Regions from separate parts of the Homo sapiens genome. Here all the other regions are linked to region 1. Evidence: promoter capture Hi-C in human tissues and cell types (Jung and others, 2019). All regions are on one chromosome and are shown on one strand. The core of a region is centred on a gene start or on the middle of the fragment in contact, and the rest is flanking DNA. Distances in the headings are between cores, read along the strand shown. Region 1 holds the start of PPP1R3B (protein phosphatase 1 regulatory subunit 3B). Region 2 has its middle 43 kb from the start of MIR597. Region 3 has its middle 56 kb from the start of MIR124-1HG. Region 4 has its middle 20 kb from the start of FAM85B. Region 5 overlaps TNKS (tankyrase). Region 6 overlaps TNKS (tankyrase). Region 7 overlaps FAM85B (family with sequence similarity 85 member B).

Region 1 (3,197 bases), core at 139-2,638:
GCGGGCAGATCACGAGGTCAGGAGATCGACACCATCCTGGCTAACACGGTGAAACCCCGTCTCTACTAAAAATACAAATAAAAATTAGCTGGGCGTGGTGGCGGGCGCCTGTAGTCCCAGCTACTCAGGAGGCCGAGGCAGGAGAATGGCGTGAACCCGGGAGGCGGAGCTTACAATGAGCCAGAGATGGCGCCACTGCACTCCAGCCTGGGCGACAGAGCGACACTCCGTCTCAAAACAAACAAACAAAACCAAACAAACAAAAAAATCAGATGCACAAGCAACCCACCAGGAACACTGAAAGCTGCCGAACTGCATTCAGTAAACATTCACAACCAGGTTATAATTTTCATTTTTAAAGACATGGCCATCTACCTCCCTCCAACAATTCTGTGTTCCCTTCCAAAAGGTTTCACTGATCCAGCATGAAGAGAGTGCATGTCTTTCCCCTTTGTACTCAGACCATGGGGGCCTATTCACAGCCTTAAAGGCTCCTTGTACCCCTTGATCCTGTCCCCATCATCCAAAGCATCTTGGAGACTGACATTTGTGAATACAGTTGCATATTCTAGGAAAGAGGCAAGTTCAAATGACACAGCCCCTGCCGTCTAAAAACGTACGAGGGAAAACAGAGTACTAGGCTAAGAATGCCCGCACCTTGCTTTGCTACTTGAGCGAGTCACTCAGCTGCTCTGGGCTTGAGGTCCCCTCCAAGGTCCCTGCTGGCCCTGACATTGTATGTTGCGACCCACCCCTGGTGCCGCTTCTCTTCCCACTAACTTTTTTTCCTAAATACCTCAACTGTACTTTTGTGTAAGTCCTCCAGCTGTCTTCACTTTAGTTTTGGCTCCTGGACAACTCTGCCCAAGGAAACATTTCCTCCTCTCCTCCTCTTCCTCCCAGACCAAAGCTCTAATTGTCTCTTCTGCTGCACCCTGGGTCTCCCAGGCAGGCCCCCGCCACTCAGACCACAGGTTCCAACACCTTCCAAGTCTCCAAGTTCCCAAGTCCAGTCTTTCCTCTGTTTTCTCCTCTTTTTCAGAAAACAGTGCTCTGACAGGCCCCAAATCTTCCAGTAAGTCATTACCGGCCCCCACTCCCTCTTTTGCAGCTACTGTGCCTTCCACACCCCTTTTTCTGGATTCCAAAGAGACGCAGGAGCAGGCCAGTGCTCTCCAGGCTGGAGGATCCCACAAGTTACTCTCCGACTCTGTCCCCTCCGTCCAGTTTGACCAGGGCTGCACTCCGCCCCCAACCTCCCTACAAGCCTCCTTGGCCTCGCGCCGCACCCACCTTTTGGGCCGCGGAGAAGCCCCCTCCCCAGCTCGCTCGCCGCATCGGAGAGCCCGCAGGGTTGTGGCAAGCGCGACTACGTGAGCGTCGGTGTGTCCGGGAGGCAGGGCCTGGGCTGGGTTCCCGGAGATGTCGGCGGTGGGAGGAAGACGACGAGGAGGAGGAGCCCGTTATCGCACCCGGGCGGGGCCGGCAAAGGGGCAACCCCGGCCGGAGCAAGCAGCGCGACACCAGCACCCCCGCGCGGCCGCCTGGCCTCCGCCAGCCCGGGACGGGGATCGTGCTAGGTCCCGTCGCCCTCGGTGGCCTGAGAGCCTACCAAGTGTATTTCCTCGCGTTTTATAGGGAAAATAAGGCCCGGAGAGAGACGAAGCGGCTTGTCCTTAAGCTCCAAACCCCACTACCCAACTTTGGAGAAGTCTCCAGACCTCTCGGGACCCGGGGCTGGGAACTTGTGCTAGTTTCGAAGCCAGAACAACAGGTGGTAAAGGGATCAGCCGCCGCAGCCGCAGCTCCCGGGTCACGGTCGCAGCCGGGCCCAGCAGCGCGGTGGAGCACGTGGGCCCGGGAGGCGCTTCCCAGCTGCGGTCCCTGGATCGCCCTCTCCACGCTGAAGCAACAGCTCCCTGGGGCCAGCTACCTAGAGTGTTCCAGCCCCGGTGTGCCAGTGCAAGTCGCACGGTGAAAATGTAGGTGACAGGAACCCAAAGAGGTCCCCGCTGCACGCCCTCGCCTTGTTGTCCCCAGCCCTTCCCTCGGACTCGAGACTTGGGGAGCTACGTACCGGGTTCAGCTCATAAGTCCCGAGGGCAGACGCGCCAGCCCGCGGCAGCATACGCCCTGGGGGAACAGGGACAGCTGCCGTGACGGCAGGAGCTGGGCCCGGGCTCGGGTTCGCGCCCCCCGCGGGCGGCGAAGTCCGTCCGTGCACGAGAGCTGCGCGGTCACCTCCTCCCTCCAGCAGTCACCCGGGACTCGAGCTCCCCGCGGCCGCGCTGCCCCCTTTAACTTTCCTGCCAGCTCTCGGGACCCCGGGGTCCATCCCAGGCCCCCTGCCACGTGAACGCCCCCCGCAGCCAATGGGCGCGCCCGGGACTCCAGCCGCCGACCAATGGGCGCGCAGCCACGGCGCTGGGGAGCACCGCTTCGCCACGTGATCGGCAGCGCGCCCGGAGTGATCCGGCTGCGGGCCAGGGTCTGGGAAGGGGGTGGTGGGTCGCCGTTTCATCAGAAGCCGGAGGACGGGCGCCAGGGGGCAACTTCCTACAGGAGGGCGTCCCGTTAGAATGACAGGGCTTTTGCAAAAGTCTGACACCCGTGGCACAGAGCGCCCCAGATATGGAGGGTTTCACAGGTAGGTATACTTCAGAAGAAATTTCCTGACTTGAATCGGTTATAATCGCTATCTAAATCTACAGGGCCTCCGCGATGCATATTATGCACCTTGAGATCTATAGAAAATGGTCTTAGAAAAAGAAAAAAATGATGACCTTAAAGAGTTTGAATCAGAGGCTCTTCCTTTCTTCAGTTTACATGTAACTTGATCTGAACTAGCCACTTTAGGCATGAGGCTACCAGTTTTCTAATTTTAATGACCAGTAGAGTTTTAGAAAAAAATTAGAAATTGATATAGGATTGCCAACTTTTTAAACTGCCAAGAAAGACATGAAAATAAACCCTGCTGTCTTCTATTACTATCCTTTTATTTTTATTTTTTAAAGTACACTTTAATAGCAATAACAACGAAATGCAGGAAGGATGTAATGGCCAGTCTTTCCCATTGGATATATTTAGCTTTCTGAAAACTCATTATGTTGAATATGGCATTTGGGAGTTTCTACTGTAAGGGATACAGGCTCAGCTTCAATTTTACTAGGAATGCAAGCCTAAAACAGTGATCGGTG
Region 2 (3,319 bases), core at 465-2,964, 630 kb after region 1:
GAATAACTTCTGCAATAGCACGGGCAACATGGGTTCCTTTCAGAAATATCTCTTAAACAAACAGGCTGACACTTTAGAGCCAGACCTCCTACCAGGTCCAAAGGCAGCCCAGGGGCCTTGCACAACATGATTGCTCACAGACTCACCTTCTCCACCTCTCGGGGGAGACGGAGGGGAAGAACGCCTGCTTCATGCAACAGTCAGTATTAAATACTTAGCACAGTGCCTGGCGCAGAGGACTAAGAAAATCCTTCCATTCTTCCCCTCTTCTTTCTCCATGCCTAGGGGTCCGTTACATAGCAAATTTGAACCTAGAATTTTATCTGTACAGTAACTTTTTTGCCAGAGGGCTTGTCAGAGCAACAAACAGACATAATTAAATGGAAGTATTCTAGTAACCCTGCAAATAACAATAGCCATCATTGAGCCCCTACGTGAACCAAGTACTTTGTATACATACATTTTCATTAGTAACCCCAAAAACTTTGCAAAACTGGCCTTTTAATTCTGTTTCACAGATGAGGAACTGAAACTGGAAGTGGTTAAATTAGTTATGTTATATCCCAGAATACCTTCCACTATAAGACTAAGTACCAGAAGGCCAGGCGCAGTGGCTCACGCCTATAATCCCAGCACTTTGGGAGGCCAAGGCAGGCGGATCACGAGGTCAGGAGATCGAGACCATCCTGGCTAACACGGTGAAACCCCGTCTCTACAAAAAATACAAAAAATTAGCCGGGTGTGGTGGTGGGCGCCTGTAGTCCCAGCTACTCGGGAGGCTGAGGCAGGAGAATGGTGTGAACCCGGGAGGCAGAGCTTGCAGTGAGCCGAGATCGCACCACTGCACTCCAGCCTGGGCAAGAGAGTGAGACTCCATCTCAAAAAAAAAAAAAATTAAGTACCATTTGCTATGTACCAATCACCAATCACAGATGGAGTTTCAGTGTTTAAGCAGGAATAAAAACACAGACTTGACTCTACCACATGATTTTATGTCAGTATCTCACACAACAATCAGATTCTAAATGCCATTAGACTCAGGTGTTCCCTTTTGGTTATAGAAAAGGAAATTATAGAGGGGACAACTTAGTGAATAAGGGGTTATAGAAAGGGTTATAGAAATAGAAATCTGAATTGTGCACAAAAAGCAAGTGGAATATAAAACAGTAACTTAAAATTTCAAAAGCCTGGGTTAGTTTATGACATGGATGTATTCCAAGGGCCTGTTTTTGTAGCATCAACCACTGTGGGTTGGGGATTGGGGGAAGTGGGATGGAGCAGCTGTAAATCACTTGCTGGATTGGGTTTATTTTCTGAAGGAAATTACTTGCTGGAAAACTAGATCCTATTAATCAAAGGGATGGGTGCTTCTTGGTAGCCAGTTTTGAAGAAGTATTTTTGGATTACGTTGTCTACATTGAGTGTCTGGATGCTGTGACCTAGTTTCTCACATTAGAGGTAGCGTGTCCTATTTATAGCACCTGTCAACCTTTATCATTTGGCTAGGTTCACTTTTCTTCATTATCGTATAAGACTGTACAATAGACCTCCAAGCTGAAAGAGCACCTGACACTATACTGGAAATAATGAAAGTTGGGTCATCCATTCCCATTAAGTTGGAACGTAAGTGTCAGGTCTTCTGGTTTGCATTAGCTCTGAACACTTGGATATATAAAAAACAGTGGAAAAGGGGATGGTGTGTACGTCTTCATTTCTACCAACTACCATCTACCATACAGTGCTAATAAAACAACTTTGCATCGGACAATATGAAAGATGTTAATTTTGTTAATATGATTCTTGGCATACTGTTCCCGCCCAAGGACCCATTTATAAAATAAGTCTATTCACCTGTACTTTCATAACTCTGCCTGCAAATCAGTGGTATGTAACACAAAGTAAAAGTATAAGGTAACCGTGGTTATGAGTCATTGGGAGTATGTAGAGGCTGAAGTCAGGAAACCAGTGCTTGCCCTACAGTACAGAATTGCTTCATAACTCCAAGGCAATTCTATGAAGGCCATGTCTCTACCTTTCATCTGTCAAGTAGGAATACTCACCAGCAGCACATCCAGACGATGCTGGCTGCCATACAGTTATTTAATTTAGGACTACTTAAAAGATGTACAAGGTGATACAAATCGAACGCTTTTGGGGTCTGAGGAGAAGATGGAAGTAGAACAATGAGAATTTTAGGTGTCTAGTCTGTTAGGGTGACTGTTACCAAAACACCTGGGTTTTGATCTAGGCCCTGCTGCTTGCCGCACAGAAAGCCAATGACTGAGATGATGAGTATTGCCAAGGAAGAAGGCTTTAATAGGGTGCTGTAGTCAAGGAGATGGGAGTTCAGTCTCAAATCCATCTCCCTAACTAAAACTAGGGGTTTATATAGCAGGGAAGTAATGCGTAAAAAAACAGGAACGAGGGAGAGGCAAGGAAGCAATCATGATGATTGAGGTGTTGGGCATCTCACTGTCTGGATGTGCTGATCTGGTGAGTTTCAGTTCTATGATACGTTTTGAGAGGCCTGAGGGTTCCTTTCCTGAGGAAAGAACTAAGATAAAACAAATATAAGTTTTAAGCTTTAAGAGAAGAAGGGTCCATTTCTATGTTTATCCAAAAACAACTGTGTATGGGGCTGTTGGGTCAATTTCATAACTAGTTAGCTGAAAGGCTGTAGGATTAAAACCTCCAGCCCTGCAATCAGAAGGCCCAAGTTCATAGCTTGGTTTTACCACTTACTAGCCATGTGACCTTGAGAAGTTCCTTATTCTTCTTGGGCCTCACTTTCCTCATCATTAAAAATGAGTATACTACTACTACTACTACTACTACTACTACTACTACTACTACTACTACTACTATTTCATAGAGTTGCTTTGAGAATTAAATGAGTTAACTTGCATAGTATGTTCTTTTTTTTTTTTTTTAATCTGAAAACTGTCTTTCCATTCTGTCCCCTAAGAAAAAGTACTTGATTGGCTAGAATGGGAGATTAGAAGAAAGCATATCCATGACTGACTCAGACCCCTTAAAGAATCTGCCGGCCAGGCGCGGTGGCTCACGCCTGTAATCCCAGCACTTTGGGAGGCCAAGGCAGGCAGATCACAAGGTCAGGAGATAGAGACCATCCTGGCTAACATGGTGAAACCCCGTCTGTACTAAAAAAAATACAAAAAATTAGCCGGGTATGGTGGTGTGCACCTGTAGTCCCAACTACTCAGGAGGCTGAGGCAGGAGAATGGCGTGAACCTGGGAGGCAGAGCTTGCAGTAAGCCAAGATCGCACTACTGCACTCCAGCATGGACGACAGAGCGAG
Region 3 (3,347 bases), core at 407-2,906, 700 kb after region 1:
TCTTTTTCATTTCACCAAGTCCTGATGGAATCAATTGTATTTTTGTACAGTAGCAATGAGCAAACTAAAAATGAAATTAAGAGAGTAGTTTTATTTAGAACAGCACCAAAAAGAATAAAATACTATATTTGTCCATTCCCAACTGCTATGAAGAAATACCTGAGACTGGGTAATTCAAAACGAAGAGGTTTAATTGGCTCATAGTTCTACTGGATGTACAGGAAGCATGGCAGCATCAGCTTCTAGAGAGGCCTCAGGAAACTTTCAATCATGGCGGAAGGCAAAGGGGGAGTGAGGCATCTCATGGTCAGAGTAGAAACAAGAACGAGTGAGGTGGGAGGTGCTACACACTTTTAAACGACTAGATCTCCCAAGGACTCACTATCACGAGAACAGCACTAAGGTGATGGTGCTAAACCATTTATGAGAAAACTACCCCTTTAATACAATCACCTCCTAACCAGACCCCACCTCCAACACTGGGAATTACAATTCAACATGAGATTTGGGTAGGCATACAGATCCAAACCATATCAAATGCTCAGGAATAAATTAACAAAAGAAGCGCAAAACTTATAAAATGAAAATTACAAAACATTATTGAAAAATGTGAAAGAAGAGCTAAATAAATGGAAAGACATCCTATATTCATGAATGGAAAGATGTAATATTGTTAAAGTGGCAATACTCCCCAAATTGATATGGATGTTTAATGCAATCACTATCAAAATCCCAGCTGCCTTCTTTACAGAAATTGACAAGCTGATCCAAAAATTCATATGGAAATGCAAGGGACTCAGAATAGACAAAACAATTTTGAGAAAAAAGACCAGGTTCACATTTCTTAATTTCAAAGAACTACAAAAATATGAAAATCAAGACAGTGTGGAACGGGTGTAAGAATAGACACATAGATCAACGGAATAGAACTGAAATTCCAGAAATAGGTCCTGGCATGTATACAGTTAATTGATTTTTTTACTAGAGTGCCAAGACAATTCAGTGGGAGAAAGAACTATCATTTCAACCAGTGGTATTGGGTCACATGGATTATCCACATGCAAATGAATATCCACATGCAAATAGAAATTTACATGGAATAAAGCTGGATGCATATCTCACACCATATGCAAAAATTAACTAAAAGATTGATTAAAAACCTAAATTAAAGAGCTAAAACTATAAAACTCTCAGAAGAAAACACAGGTATAAACTTGCATGTCCTTAGATTAGGCAATGGTTTCTTAGACATGACACCAAAAGCATAAGCAATAAAAGAAAAATATAGATAAACTGGACATCACCAGAAGTTTAAATTTTTGTGCCTCAAAGGACACGACCAAGAGAGTGAAAAGACACTCTACAGCATGGGAGAAAATTTTTGCAAATCATGTCTGATAAGAAATTTGTATCTAGTATAAAGAACTTTTACAACTCAATAATAAAAAGGTAATAACCCAATTAAAAAGTGGCCAAAGGATCTGACATTTCTCCAAAGAAGAAACACAAACGATGAATAAGCACATGTAAAGATGGTCAACATTATTGGCCATCAGAGAAAAGAAAGTCGAAACTATTGGTATCTAGTGGGATATACCAATTCACACCACTAGAATGGCTATTATAAAAACAACAAAAAACTAATTAAAAAAAACAGATAGTAACAAGTGTTGACTGGGTACAGTGGCTCACATTTGTAATCCTAGTGTGCCCGGAATTGGTGGGTTCTTGGTCTCACTGACTTCAAGAATGAAGCCGCGGACCCTCGTGATGAGTGTTATAGCTCTTAAGGCAGTGCATCTGGAGTTGTTCTTTCCTCCCGGTGGGTTCATGGTCTCGCTGGCTTCAGGAGTGAAGCTGCAGACCTTCTCGGTGAGTGTTACAGCTCATAAAGGCAGTGTGGACCCAAAGAGTGAGCAGCAGCAAGATTTATTGCAAAGAGCCAAAGAACAAAGCTTCCACATTGTGGAAGGGGACCCAAGCGGGTTGCCACTGCTGGCTCGGGCAGCCTGCTTTTATTCTCTTATCTGGCCCTACCCACATCCTGCTGATTGGTCCATTTTACAGAGAGCGGAGTGATCTGTTTTGACAGGGCGCTGATTGGTGCGTTTATAATCCCTGAGCTAGACACAAAGGTTCTCCACCTCCCCACTAGATTAGCTAGATACAGAGTGTCCACACAAAGGTTCTCCAAGTCCCCACCAGAGTAACTAGATACAGAGTGTAGATTGGTGCATTCACAAACCCTGAGCTAGACACAGGGTGCTGATTGGTGTATTTACAATCCCTGAGCTAGACCTAAAGGTTCTCCACGTCCCCACCAGACTCAGGAGCCCAGCTGGCTTCACCCAGTGGATCCCGCACCAGGGCCGCAGATGGAGCTGCCTGCCAGTCCCGCGCCCTGCGCCTGCACTCCTCAGCGCTTGGGTGGTCGATGGGACTGGGTGCCACGGAGCAGGGAGCGGCGCTCGTCGGGGAGGCTTGGGCCAAGCAGGAGCCCACGAGGGTGGGGGAGGCTCAGGCATGGCAGGCTGCACGTCCCGAGCCCTGCCCTGCAGGAAGGCAGCTAAGGCCCTGCGAAAAATTGAGCACAGCAGCTGCTGGCCCAGGTGCTAAGCCCCTCACTGCCCGGGGCCAGCGCGGCCGGCCGGTGGCTCCAAGTGCGGGGACTGCCCAGCCCACGCCCACCCGGAACTCGCACTGGCCCGCAAACACCTTGCGCAGCCCAGGTTCCCGCCCGCGCCTCTCCCTCCACACCTCCCCGCAAGCTGAGGGAGGCGGCTCCGGCCTTGGCCAGCCCAGAAAGGGGCTCCCACAGTGCAGCGGTGGGCTGAAGTGCTCCTCAAGTGCTGCCAAAGTGGAAGCCCAGGCAGAGGAGGCGCCGAGAGCAAGCGAGGGCTGTGACGACTGCCAGCACGCTGTCACCTCTCACTAGCACTTTGGGAGTGTGAAGCGAGTGGATTGCCTGAGCTCAGGAGTTAGAGATCAGCCTGGCCAACATGGCAAAATCCCGTCTCTACTAAAAAAAAAAAAAATTAGCCAGGCGTGGTAGCACACACCTCTAGTAGCAGCTACTCGGGAGGCTGAGGCAGGAGAATCACTTGAACCTGGGAGGCAGAGGTTGAACTGAGCTGAGATCATGCCACTGCACTCCAGCCTGGGCAACAGAGCAAAACTCTGTCTCAAAAAAACAAAACAAAACAAAAACCAAAAAAAACAAAAACAAACAAAAAACCCCCAAAAATAAAAAATAAATAAAAAACCCAAAAAACAAGTGTTGGTGAGGATTTGGAGAAATCAAAACCATGATACTCTTCTGGTGAGAATGTACAATGATGCAGCTGCTT
Region 4 (3,362 bases), core at 833-3,332, 900 kb before region 1:
TTGTTCTTTTCTAACAAAGAGCAGCCTGAAAAAATCGAGCTGCAAATATAGGTGAGCAAGCTGGAAGCTTCCACGGGTGAATGACGGCAGCTGTCCACGAGGAAAAGGCTACCTGGGGCCAGGCATGTTCAACATGGAGGCTCCATCCTCCCTTTTCTTTGTCACCATGTGTACAGTAAAGAAACAGGCAACATGGCACTCGCCAGGTAGAGAACCATCTGCATAATAAAAGATTAGGGTGGGCAGCCACCTTTTCACACCCAGTAAAATGGCACACCTGGTCCAACCAATCTTTCATGCCATATGTAAAACAGACACCACCTCCTCAAGCTCATCTATAAAACGCTCTGCATTTCACCATGGAAGTGGAAACCCATTCAGGACCCCTCTCTCTGCAGCAGAGAGAGATCTTCTCTTTCTGTCGCCTATTAAACTTCCGCCTTAAGCTCACTCTTGGTGTATCTGTGTCCTAGTTTTCCATGGCCGTGAGACAACAAATCTCGGGTATTTACCCCAGAATATGATGCCGCTTCACTTTGACCATCTATTCATATTTTAGAGAAAAACCTAAACAAACAAGGCTGGGTTTGTTGAAGGCTGGCTTCACAGAAGGCTCACCAGTTAGCCAGCCTTCTTCCTGAGGGACTTGTGATGGTTGTACTCTTCGGCTTCTCCAGAAAGGAGCATGGGAGCAGTCCATGAGAGGCTGAAGACCTGCCATTCAGTGTGTGGATCTTCCCTCATTTCCCATCCTCTCTTCTCCTGGTCTATACTGGGACTGCTATCCCTGAGCTCAGAGCCTTGGGACTGAAACTGTCCTGAGTGTGAACCTCCTGACTCCCATGTGAGTAGCTGGGTGAACGGAATTTGAATCCACTCAGTTTGCAGCCCATTGCCTCATCTGTCTGCTCACAGAATATAGTGGCTTCAAGCTTTGAACCCTGTAGGTGATCTTCAGAGCAAGACAAACCAGTTTCATCAGCTGTGCCTCATACAGGCCACTGGCCTTAACTTCTTCTGTCCTGTTAGGTCAGTCACCCCCATCTGTCCTCTTCCTGTCTTCTAAGGATTTTATTGAAGTCTTTTGTCACCGATGGCTGGGGTCCCCTGCCCCTGGGCGATGGACTGGTACTAGTCAGTGGCCTGTTAGGATCCAGGTGGTCCAGTAGGAGGTGAGCAGCCGGTGAGCAAGTGAAACTTCATCTGTAGTTACAGCCGCTCTTCATTGCTCACATTACTGCCTGAACACTACCTCCCGTCAGATCAGCAGCAGCATTAGATTCGCATAGGAGCACAAACTCTATTGTAAATTACACACGTGAGGGATCTAGGTTGCAAGCTTCTTATGAGAATCTAATGCCTGTGATCTGAGGTGGAGCCGAGGCTGTGATGCTAGCGCTGGGGAGTGGCTGTAAATACAGATTAACATTAGCAGAGAGGATTTACAGCACAGAGACCAAATAAATCAACTGCTTGCAAACTCGTATCAAAACCCTATCAGTGAGTGGGAAGTGACAACCTGCATCTGGTGGCAGGCTTTATAGTGGAAAGTGAGTTGATGTGCTTCAGTTGCACAGTTGTATTTGGTGCCCTTAAAAGTATGTTTAACATGCTGGGAGGCCGAGGTGGGCGGATCACAAGGTCAGGAGTTCAAGACCAGCCTGTCCAACATAGTGAAACCCTGTCTCTACTAAAAATACAAAAAATTTGCTGGGCATGGTAGTGCATGCCTGTAGTCCCAGCTACTCGGGAGGCTGAGGCAGGAGAATCACTTGAACCCGGGAGGCGGAGCTTGCAGTGAGCCGAGATCACGCCATTGCACTCCAGCCTGGGCAACAAGAGCAAGACCCCATCACACACACACACACACACACACACACACACACACACACACACACACACAAAGGGCGTTTGAGACAATTTCAAATCTCCATACGTTCCGGATTAAAGTCAAGGCCGAATATCTTGAAATTGCCACAAAAGCACTGAAAAGCCTGGTTCCATTTCCAACACCCTGTCTTTGTGAAGCAGGATTTTTTGCAGTGATAGCGACCAAAATGAGATTATGTAGACTGGACATAAGCGGCACACTTCGGGTGTCACTGTCTCGCAATATCCCCAGATGGGACCGTCTAGTTGCAAGAAAACAAGTTCAGGGCTCCCAGTTGATTCTACAGTGGGAGAGTTGTGTAATTATTTCATTATATATTGCAATGTAATAATAATAGAAATAAAGTTCACAATAAGTGTAAAGTGCTAGAATCATCCTGAAACCATCTTCTCCTCCCCCACCCTGGTAAGTGGAAAAATTGTCTTCCATGAAACTGGTTCCTGGTGCCAAAAAAGTTGGGGCCCACTGCCTTATGGGATCATCTCCAGTTCTCTTTGCCTCTGTGGATTAATAATATTTTAATTTTGCTATCTCCATTTTAGTGGAGTTTTTGAAATAAAGATGTTAAACATATCTGGTCATTTTATTTTTAATTGGAAGTCCCACATTAACCCCTGTTACCCTTAAAAATGAAGGGCTCAGTTTTCAAATGAAAAAAATTTCTCTCGAGGTCTGTGTCTTCATTGTGCCACTAGAGGGTACTGCGACATCTGCAAGATGAAAGGCCTGGCCAGGGCAGATCTATGTTTTAAAGCCTTTTCTCTCATATGGACAAAAAATACCAGCTTAGATATGGTCATTGTGTTTTTTAGGAACTATTTTTTTTATTATTAGAAGTAGAACACTTTTTAATAATATCTTTGGAGCCTGAACCATGAATTAATATTCTTACAAATATTTACTAGATAGGAAATCTTAGCTGAGTCACTTTACTTTTCTAAGCCTGAATTCTCTCATCTGTAATAAGATAAAATATAATATATGTCATGTTTTGTAGGAGTGAAGTATTTATTACCTCCCTCGTAGGGACACAGAGTGCGTGTACAAAAAAATGCCAAAAATGACAACTTCATTAGAATAAAGATGCTTTTAAGATGATCACTTCAAAGGTCAAGGTAATTTCTGGCACAATTTTGTTTAAAAATAAATTATTGGCTGGGCACGGTGGCTTATGCCTGTAATCCCAGCAGTGTGGGAGGCCGAGGTGGGCGGATCACCTGAGGTCAGGAGTTTGAGACCAGCCTGGCCAATATGGTGAAACCCCATCTCTACTAAAAATAGAAGAATTAGCCGGGCATGGTAGTGTGCGCCTGTAGTCCCAGCTACTCACAGGGAGGCTGAGGCAGGAGAATCACTTGAACCTGGGAGGTGGAGGTTGCAGTGAGCCGAGAACACGCCACTGCACTCCAGCCTGGGTGACAGGGTGAGACTCTGTCTAAAAAAAAAAAAAAAAAAAAAAAATTATTTCTTG
Region 5 (3,272 bases), core at 233-2,732, 580 kb after region 1:
ATGAAATATAACTAATTTTATTTATATTTTGGTTATTACTTGAAAGTAAGTTGGGGTATGTTATTCTATTAAGAACAATACTGCTGTAGAGACTGCTCTCATTTTCTATTTCCCAGAAGACCGTTTATGTGATATGACACATAGCTTTGCGTAGTGCCTAAAGTGAATATCTGAAATGGTTTAAGTCCATGTCATAAAAATTCATCAAAGTAGGTTTTAGAAAGAGCTGAAATAGTTTGCATTGCTTGTCTAGTACTTATAGTATTAATATCAGAAAAAACTGTACAGGAGAAACAAGCTTTTCAATCAAGTTGGGTTTTTTTTCTTTGTTGGCTATTTTATTATTGTTAACTAACTCATTCACTAGTAAACATCAAATATTGTGTCTTTAAGAACTTATTGTAGTATCAGATTTTTATTAAAACATAAGATGATCTCTAAAGTTGTTCATATAGATTTTAGATACATGTAAAAGAGTGAAAACTAGTAGTTATATGAAACTAACTATAATTTATGCTCACTTAAAGTATATTTTTAAAAAACGACCAGATGTGTATTTATGAGATTTTCTTTTGCTTTTTTTTAACTACGGAAAAAAAATTGAAGTGTTTAAATAAAATTCTTCTCCCTTCACTTTTATGATATCAAATACATTCTTATGAATCTTGAGAAAAACACAATATCTGATACTCATTTTTATTATCACTGGTTGGTAAGAAATAACTTCCAAGTCATTGTGAATCCATTGTCCACCTTGACTTACAACTAATTTCCGCAGTGAGCCCATGACAGTCTGTGGCCGACCCATAATAAAAATTATTGACTTCTATTTACTTTATTTAATAGCTATTGGTAATTAAACTTTTAAAATCTATAATTTTTAATACATTTATATCTAATTTCATGATAGATGTTAAGACTTAGGATAAAAATCTTAAAAATATTACCAAACTTTATTCTTACTGATGGCCTTTAGAATTAAGTCCTTTTTTACCAGTGTGTCTTACTCTACTCTCTTCTTTTTCATACCTACTGAGTATCTTTATGTAATTGAATCTGGTCAAAATTAACATCCATGCTATTCTTCAAAGTAAAATAGGTTTCCAAAGACAACTTGGAGTCTGAGAAAAAGTGTATTATATAGGTTGTCTCAAAGATACTTAACACTCTCCCTACTTTATCATCACCATTGATCCTGAAGCTTTGACTGTATAGTATTAATAGTTAGAAAGCTGATCCATTATATTACTAAGTAGGAATTTTGCAAAGTGTTTTTCAAAATGCATATAGAGTAGATATCTTCCCCAGAGGAACAAAGGTAGAGTAAATTAATTACCTACCTACCTACCTACCTACTTACTACAGAAAATACAAACCCCATTTGGTTTTTCTTCTTTGTAGCATGGAGCAGATCCAACTAAAAAGAACAGAGATGGAAATACACCTTTGGATTTGGTAAAGGAAGGAGACACAGATATTCAGGACTTACTGAGAGGGGATGCTGCTTTGTTGGATGCTGCCAAGAAGGGCTGCCTGGCAAGAGTGCAGAAGCTCTGTACCCCAGAGAATATCAACTGCAGAGACACCCAGGGCAGAAATTCAACCCCTCTGCACCTGGCAGGTAAGCGCCCCCAGTGCCTCCAAGCCTCCTTTTCCTTTCTCGGACACCTAATACAGTTTACTAAAAGACGAAAGCCATGCTGAACACAAATGGGACTACTTAGTAAAATGCTCTTGATTGACATAGTTTTGTATAATTTCTTATTGTGAAGTCCCTCCATTATGTGATAACAGTATTAGCTTTTGAAGCAAAAAGTATTAAAACCTTAACATTTTCTGGTCCTTATTACATATGTATGTATTTTTTTTCCTTTAAGCTGACACGTTTCCTGTATTTTTTTTACTCTAAATAGCAGGCTATAATAACCTGGAAGTAGCTGAATATCTTCTAGAGCATGGAGCTGATGTTAATGCCCAGGACAAGGGTGGTTTAATTCCTCTTCATAATGCGGCATCTTATGGGGTAAGCATACTAACATTAAAATCTAGAAAACTGACCGCACGCGGTGGCTCACGCCTGTAATCCCAGCACTTTAGGAGGCCGAGGAAGGTAGATCACGAGGTCAGGAGGTCGAGACAATCCTGGCTAACACGGTGAAACCCCGTCTCTACTAAAAATACAAAAAATTAGACGGGCATAGTGGCGGGCACCTGTAGTCCCAGCTACTCGGGAGGCTGAGGCAGGAGAATGGCATGAACCCGGGAGGCGGAGCTTGCAGTGAGCCCAGATCGCGCCACTGCACTCCAGCCTGGGTGACAGAGCGAGACTCTGACTCAAAATAAATAAATAAATAAATAAAATAAAATCTAGAAAACTTCCCTGGCATTTACGACTTTATTAAATGCATACTATGCATTAAGTAAGTAGATATCTAACTAATAGCATGATTTAGCATAATTTTAATCTTTTGTTCAGAGTTTTGGTGTATCTTCCCGGCTAAGCTTAACTACCTTTTGGCCAACAGTCATGCTTTTTATTGCTTTTTGGTCTCAGCACGTTATCAAGCACAATAATAGGCATGTAATGGGTGCTCAGTTTATATTTATCAATATTGTAATATAATATATATAATGTAAAATAATATAATAAATACCAATTTCTTAATTCTACCTCAAGTATATTTTAAAAACTAGAAAAGCTGTGCAGCTGTTATACAGGCATGGAAAGTATGTTGGCTTACATTTATCATCAGCACCTTAAAAATATTCGAGTAGCAGGCACAGTGGCATGCGCCTGTAATCCCAGCCATTCGGGAGGCTGAGGTGGGAAGATCGCTTGAGCCCAGGAGTTCAAGGCCACCCTGATCAACATAGTGAGACCTCATCTAAAAAAAAAAAAAAAAAAAAAAAATTAAATGGTTGAGCAGTTGATATATATGGTTTCAGAGAGTAGGAATTACTAGCTAAAACCTCCAGGTGAAAGTCCAGAGTTTTGGACATGAAGTCCTTGCCCACGCCTATGTCCTGAATGGTAATGCCTAGGTTTTCTTCTAGGGTTTTTATGGTTTTAGGTTTAACGTTTAAATCTTTAATCCATCTTGAATTGATTTTTGTATAAGGTGTAAGGAAGGGATCCAGTTTCAGCTTTCTACATATGGCTAGCCAGTTTTCCCAGCACCATTTATTAAATAGGGAATCCTTTCCCCATTGCTTGTTTTTCTCAGGTTTGTCAAAGATCAGATAGTTGTAGATATGCGGCATTATTTCTGAGG
Region 6 (2,981 bases), core at 316-2,815, 520 kb after region 1:
AACTTTATTGTAGAATTTGTCCATAATAAATGTTTACCATCATTTCTAAATATATATGGAATGCCTATTACCCTGAACCTAAGATAGAAAATGCTGGTTTTTTGTTTTGTTTTGTTTTGTTTTTAATGCAGATAACAAGTGAGAAGGAAAGAGTTAAAAGATGTGCAAATTAGTTCAGGCCAGATGAATTGCCCCTATATGAGGCAAGGTTGGTATCTGCAGTGGTGAAATTGTGGCAGTGCCATCATAGTTCTCAGTAGTTAACTTTTTCTCTTTTTTTTCTTTTCTTTTCTATAGGTGACATGAGAATTTTTCAGATTTCAAAAAAGACATGGTTTGGCTATTTCTTAACAAGGTTAAACAGATACTTATGATATAACCCAGCAACCCCACTGCTAGATATTTACCCAAGAAAAATGAAGTTATTTGTCCATACAAAAATACTCTCTGTAAATGTTGCCAGTAGCTTTCTTCATAATCACCCAAAGACATTTGGTAACAACCCAAATGTCTGGCAGCTGGTGATTGGATAAACAAATTGAGATACATCCATATAATGGAATATAACTTAACAATAAGAAGGATCAAAGTACCGATATGTCCAACAACATGGACGAAACTTAAAAGCATTTATACTAAGTAAAAGATACTAGAATCAGAAGTTTATATATTCTGTGATTCCATTTACATGGCATTCCGTAAAATAAAACTGGGGACAGAAATCATATCCATGGTTACCATGGAGGGAGGGGGATTGGAGTAGGCGATTGATTTCAGAGGGGCCTGACTTTTTGGTGTGATAGAAATGTTTCCTGTCTTGAAGTGTAGTGTTCACACAGCTGTATAAGTTTTTCAAAACCCACAGAACCATCTGAAAAGGTGAATTTAACTATATGTAAATTATACTTCGAAAAATGAATAAGAAAAGACACAGTTTAATAGTAGTCACCCCTTATCCACAGTTTCACTTTTCAAGGTTTCAGTGACCTGTGGTCAACTGCCTCTCAAAATATTAAGTGGAAAATTCCTGAAATAAACAATTTATAAGTTTTATATGGCATGATGCTCTGAGTATGGTGATGAAATCTCACACAGACCTGCTGTATTCTGCCCAGGGCGTGAACCTTCCCTTTGTCCATAGATCCATGCTGTCTACACTCTCTGCCCGTTAGGCACTTCGTAGCCATCTCAGTGATCAGATCAGCGTCCTGCTATTGCAGCACTTGTGTGCAAGTAATCCTTACTTTACCTCATAGTGACCCAGAAGCACAAGAGTAGTGATATTGGCATATTGTTCCAATTGTTCTGTTTTATTAGAGATTATTCTTAATCTCTTACTATGCCTAGTTTATAAATTAAAATTTATAAGGGGTATGTATTATTGGAAAAAACATATATAGGGTAGGTACCGTCCGCAGTTTTAGGCATCCACTTACATAATGGGGGACCTTGGAATGTATCCCCTGTGAATAATGGGGGCTACTGTACATCTACCATATATTACAAAACACCCCCCGTGGAGACTGGGGCTGTACTATGTAACAGTGATATTTTTGTAGTGAAATATATGACAGCTGTGCTGTGTAGCTGTGTACACTAAATGGGTCAAGTTTTGCTGCCATCTGAGTTTTTAGAGCTTTTTGGGTTTCAGATTTGCAAACAAGGGAGTGTGAATTGATGGCTGTAGAAAAAGGACCTGTGATATAGAACAAAATGTAAAAACTATTGCCAAGTTGTTTTGGATCAAATAGGGAATTTACTTTTCCTGATTTAAATCACTTTTTATGCAGCAGACACTGTGATGGTAAAAAAAAAAAAAAAAAAAAAACACATACACACACACACACACACACACACACACACAAAAAAAAAAAAACAAACTAATATCCCACTTCCCCCAGCCCCTAGCTGCCATTAACACAGATAGTTGATGGCTTAAATAATAGTGGTTGTCCTGAGCTCCCAGACTGAACACATAGCATCATAACCTGCCATGCTTAGAGAGTTCCCTCCCTCCTTCCGTCTTCCTTTCCTCCTTTTTTGTTTTCTTTTTAATATATCAAAAAGTTCTTTCATGTGTACTGTGGTCACAAAGGCTGTTTTCTTTTAAAGTACCGGCACACTTTGCAGAAAGTCCCACTGGTTAACAGCTTCTAGAGGAACACCTCTTTTACCTTTTAATATCCAATTTAAAGAATGTATGTATTTGATAATACCCTCTTTTTTTGGCCGATGTGTATTTATTGAGACACCTATTGATGGCTACAATTGACACCACATCAGAAACAAGTACAAATGATTGGAAACCCTGCTAAGTGTCAGGAAATGGGATGTGTATCTTAGATGTTACTCGTACTAAGAGAGGTCATATTACTGCCTCCTGCATAAAGCTTTTACAAAGCTTTTATTATATGAGTGTTATATTGTGTTTTTGAAATGTTTTAGGACATTGATTGAGGTTTTTGTGTTGACATTTAATATATTACAATTTTTAAGACATGAAAATAATATATAAATTTTATGACATAAAATTATGACATAAAAATTTTAATATAGGATAATAGAGTTGTATTTGGGGCCTTTTACCTTTTGGATTTTTTTTTTTTTTTTTTTTGAGCAGGAGTCTTGCTCTGTTGCCCAGGCTGGAGTGCAGTGGTGCGATCTCAGCTCACTGCAACCTCTGCCTCCCAGGTTTAAGAAATTCTCTGTCTCAGCCTCCCGAATAGATGGGATTACAGGCACGTGCCACCACGCCCAGCTAATTTTTTTGTGTTTTTAGTAGAGAGGAGGTTTCACCATCTTGACCAGGCTGGTATTGAACTCCTGACCTCGTGATCCACCCTTCTGGGCCTCCAAGGCGCTGGGATTACAGGTGTGAGCCACCGCACCCGGCCTGGAATTTTTTTTCACAGCTGCTATGCAGGGGTCGGGGGGTTCATTTCCGTTTTCCTAAAGAATTGGAAAGCTTCTCAAATAATAAC
Region 7 (3,000 bases), core at 441-2,940, 930 kb before region 1:
GCTTGAGCCCAGGAGGTTGAGGCTGCAGCGAGCCAAGATTGTGTCACTGCACTCTGGCCTCAGCAACAGAACAAGACCCTGTTGCACAATTTTAAAAACAATTAAAAAACGAGCCTAAAGAAAACACAAAAACCAATGCTAACTGTGAGACATAAATGAGGTGGTCTATTTTTTGTTAACTACCAACTAACAATTCATGGCAGAAACACAGTTTAAATGATGCTATAGCCGGGCGCTGTGGCTCACACCAGTAATCCCAACACTTTGGGAGGCTGAGGCAGGTGGATCACCTGAAGTCAGGAGTTTGAGACCAGCCCGGTCAACATGGTGAAACCCCGTCTCTACTAAAAATACAAAAATTAGCCAGGTGTGGTGCCGGGTGCCTATAATCCCAGCTACTCGGGAGGCTGAGACAGGAGAATCGCTTGAACCCCGGGGGGGCGGAGGTTGCAGTGAGCCAAGATCGCGCCATTGCTCTCCAGCCTGGGCGACAGAGCAAAACACTGTCTCAAAAAATAAATAAATAATGAAATAAGTGATGCTATAAACCTCATGTGAGGGAAGACTGTCCCAGGTACAGCTTGAAGAACCCTTGCTGTGAATAGGAGCCAAATGCGATCATTATGTTTGCAACTTGCTTGTTAGCTTGTTGCAACTCCACAGTGTAACAGAAAACTCATGAGGTTACTGTCTAATGTTGGTGGAAATATTCACATTAAAATACAACAGTTTATCACCTAAGGTATATTTTATCCCTCAAGTGGCCCGGAACACAGTGATTATTGCACCCCAATCGCACGCCCGTAGCTAAGGCCTTGCCAAGGAGAAATTCCACAATCACCTGGCCTATTTGTAAACCTGGTTTATGACATTTTGTAACAGGATATCTTGACAGTAGCATGAGGACATTTAACGAGACAAGAACATTCCCCACTGACAAAACAGATGGTTTCAGGGAACAGGATGCTGTGCTGAGTTTAATATTCTGCTGAACTGACCATTAGGGAGAAAATCCTTTGGGTCAATGCCTCTCACGGAATCCACTTATCAGATTCCTGTCCACCTGCCTGCTTTGCAGTGCAGAGTAAAGTGGGCCTTCCTTGACTCTCTTCAGGGACCAATGTGCTTGAGGCCATCATGAGGATATTCATTCTTTTTTTTTTTTTCTTGAGAGAGTCTCGCTCTGTCGCCCAGGCCGGAATGCAGTGGTGTGATCTCAGCTCCCCACTGCAACCTCTGCCTCCCAAGTTCAAGTGATTCTCCTGCCTCAGACTCCTGAGTAGCTGGGATTACAGACATGTATCACCCGGCCCAGCTAATTTTTCTATTTTTTGTAGAAACAAGGTTTCACCATGTTGGCCATGCTGGTGTCGAACTCCTGACTTCAAGTGATCCACCTGCCTCGGCCTCCCAAAGTGCTGGTATTACAGGTGTGAGGCAACGTGCCTGGCAGAGGGCTTTCATTCTTGATGGACTGCTCCATAGCCTCAGAGACAGTCGGACTTGTTTCTTCACCCAGAGCGGAGCAGACAGGCAATTTCTGTATCCACCAGGACAAATATTAGACCAACTCTTCAGTGTACAGAGAGCATCACATTTCTTATATGCTAGAATATCTGTTGGTCCAAAATATAAATAAATAGTATTGTAGCCAGCCACAGTGGCTCACACCTATAACTCCAGAGCTTTGTGGGGCTGAGGCAGGAGGTTCACTTGAGGTCAAGAGTTCGAGACCAGCCCGGGCAACATAGAGAGACACCCCCACACAGCCACCTGCCATCTCTACAAAAATTAAAATAATTAGCTGGGCATAGTAGTGTGGGCCTGTAGTCCCAACTACTTGGGAAGCTGATGTGGGTGGATCGCTTGAGCCCAGGAATTTGAGGCTGCAGTGGGCTATGACTGCATCACTGTACTCCAGCTAGACCTTGTCTCAAAAAAAAAAAAAAAAGTGCTGCAATTGACATTACTTTATCATTTGAAAAGAGGGACAGACAAGAAAGGTATTTGGCATTTACCAAGCAATTACCCAGAATCCTCATCCCATCCTACCCCACCCTTCCCCTAAAAATGTATGTATATGTTTTATACCATAAAAAATACATCTATTTGGCTCTGGAACCAGATTGCTTGGGTTCAATTACCTGATCTAGCATTTGCTCCTGATGACTCAGTGCAGAAAAGCTCTGTAACTCAGTTTCCCCAGCTGTAAAATGGGGAATGGCGACTTTACTGGGCTGCCATGAGGGTAAAGGAGGGAACGTATATTTATGAAGCATTCAGAGCAATTCATGATACATAGTAAGCTCTATATATTTGAGCTTATTATTACTGTCAGTACGATTTTCATCATCTTGCTGTTTCCAATGGGTACGATTTCTACATTCTCTTTCTTAAAGACCTTTAAATCCTTGGTATTCTCTCCACCACCACAGACAGCAGTGTCCATGTAGTTTAAATTTTCAAAGACTTCATGGATCCAATAAACATGACATTAACTAAGGGACAGTTTTCTTTCAGTGGATTGGAACCTAAAATGGCTTTTTTATTGTTATTATTGGCCAGGCTGGTCTCGAACTCCTGACTTCAAGTGATCCCCCCACCTCACCCTCCCAAAGTGTGCTGAGATTACAGGCATGAGCCACCATCCCCAGCCCTCATTCTCTTCTTTTATAAGGACACCAGTCACTGCATCTGCCCCCTCACCAGCAGCCCCCAATCCAGGATGACTCATCGTTACTTGATTACATTTAGAAAGACCACATTTCCAAATAAGGTCACATTCCTGGGTACTGAGGATTAAGATTTCAAATTTTTTCCCTGACTCAATTTTTTTTTGAGTCAGGGCCTCACCCTGTCACCCAGGCTGGAGTACAGTTATGTGATTATAGCTCACTGCAGCCTCAAACTCCTGGGCTCAAGGGATCCCCTGACCTCAGCCTTCCAAGTGTCTGAGACTACAGGTGCACACCATCATGCCCAACTAATTTTTTTGTTTTT

What was found. Contacts are between HindIII fragments. The study calls those that stand out against the background at their distance.
Region 2: a contact is called between a fragment that was not itself captured here and the fragment with the promoter of PPP1R3B in region 1, in 1 of the 25 tissues and cell types used here (lymphoblastoid cells).
Region 3: a contact is called between a fragment that was not itself captured here and the fragment with the promoter of PPP1R3B in region 1, in 1 of the 25 tissues and cell types used here (hippocampus).
Region 4: a fragment that was not itself captured here is called in contact with the fragment with the promoter of PPP1R3B in region 1 in 1 of the 25 tissues and cell types used here (spleen).
Region 5: a contact is called between a fragment that was not itself captured here and the fragment with the promoter of PPP1R3B in region 1, in 2 of the 25 tissues and cell types used here (dorsolateral prefrontal cortex and mesendoderm cells).
Region 6: a fragment that was not itself captured here is called in contact with the fragment with the promoter of PPP1R3B in region 1 in 1 of the 25 tissues and cell types used here (lymphoblastoid cells).
Region 7: a fragment that was not itself captured here is called in contact with the fragment with the promoter of PPP1R3B in region 1 in 1 of the 25 tissues and cell types used here (lymphoblastoid cells).

Annotation. Positions count from the first base shown.
Region 1 is chr8:9,149,270-9,152,466 of GRCh38, forward strand. It overlaps PPP1R3B (protein phosphatase 1 regulatory subunit 3B), which reads right to left and starts at 1,389. Exons shown (of 2, transcript NM_024607.4): 1 at 1,294-1,389. It overlaps PPP1R3B-DT (PPP1R3B divergent transcript), which reads left to right and starts at 2,456. Exons shown (of 5, transcript NR_183348.1): 1 at 2,456-2,647. RefSeq lists enhancers at 789-1,737, 1,784-2,023 and silencers at 1,374-1,643, 2,144-2,393. The HindIII fragment of the contact is 27,491 bases long and covers 1-3,197 here.
Region 2 is chr8:9,782,540-9,785,858 of GRCh38, forward strand. No RefSeq gene overlaps it. Among named protein-coding and RNA genes, the nearest start is that of MIR597, 43 kb to the left of the region's middle. The HindIII fragment of the contact is 4,527 bases long and covers 1-3,319 here.
Region 3 is chr8:9,845,389-9,848,735 of GRCh38, forward strand. No RefSeq gene overlaps it. Among named protein-coding and RNA genes, the nearest start is that of MIR124-1HG, 56 kb to the right of the region's middle. The HindIII fragment of the contact is 4,314 bases long and covers 1-3,347 here.
Region 4 is chr8:8,245,399-8,248,760 of GRCh38, forward strand. No RefSeq gene overlaps it. Among named protein-coding and RNA genes, the nearest start is that of FAM85B, 20 kb to the left of the region's middle. The HindIII fragment of the contact is 4,944 bases long and covers 1-3,362 here.
Region 5 is chr8:9,733,464-9,736,735 of GRCh38, forward strand. It overlaps TNKS (tankyrase), which reads left to right. Exons shown (of 27, transcript NM_003747.3): 16 at 1,402-1,621; 17 at 1,914-2,023. Among named protein-coding and RNA genes, the nearest start is that of MIR597, 6.6 kb to the right of the region's middle. The HindIII fragment of the contact is 3,848 bases long and covers 1-3,272 here.
Region 6 is chr8:9,670,849-9,673,829 of GRCh38, forward strand. All of the region lies in intron 3 of TNKS (tankyrase), which reads left to right. Among named protein-coding and RNA genes, the nearest start is that of MIR597, 69 kb to the right of the region's middle. The HindIII fragment of the contact is 3,399 bases long and covers 1-2,981 here.
Region 7 is chr8:8,221,682-8,224,681 of GRCh38, forward strand. The region is part of intron 1 of FAM85B (family with sequence similarity 85 member B); the gene reads right to left. Among named protein-coding and RNA genes, the nearest start is that of FAM85B, 4.3 kb to the right of the region's middle. The HindIII fragment of the contact is 8,646 bases long and covers 1-3,000 here.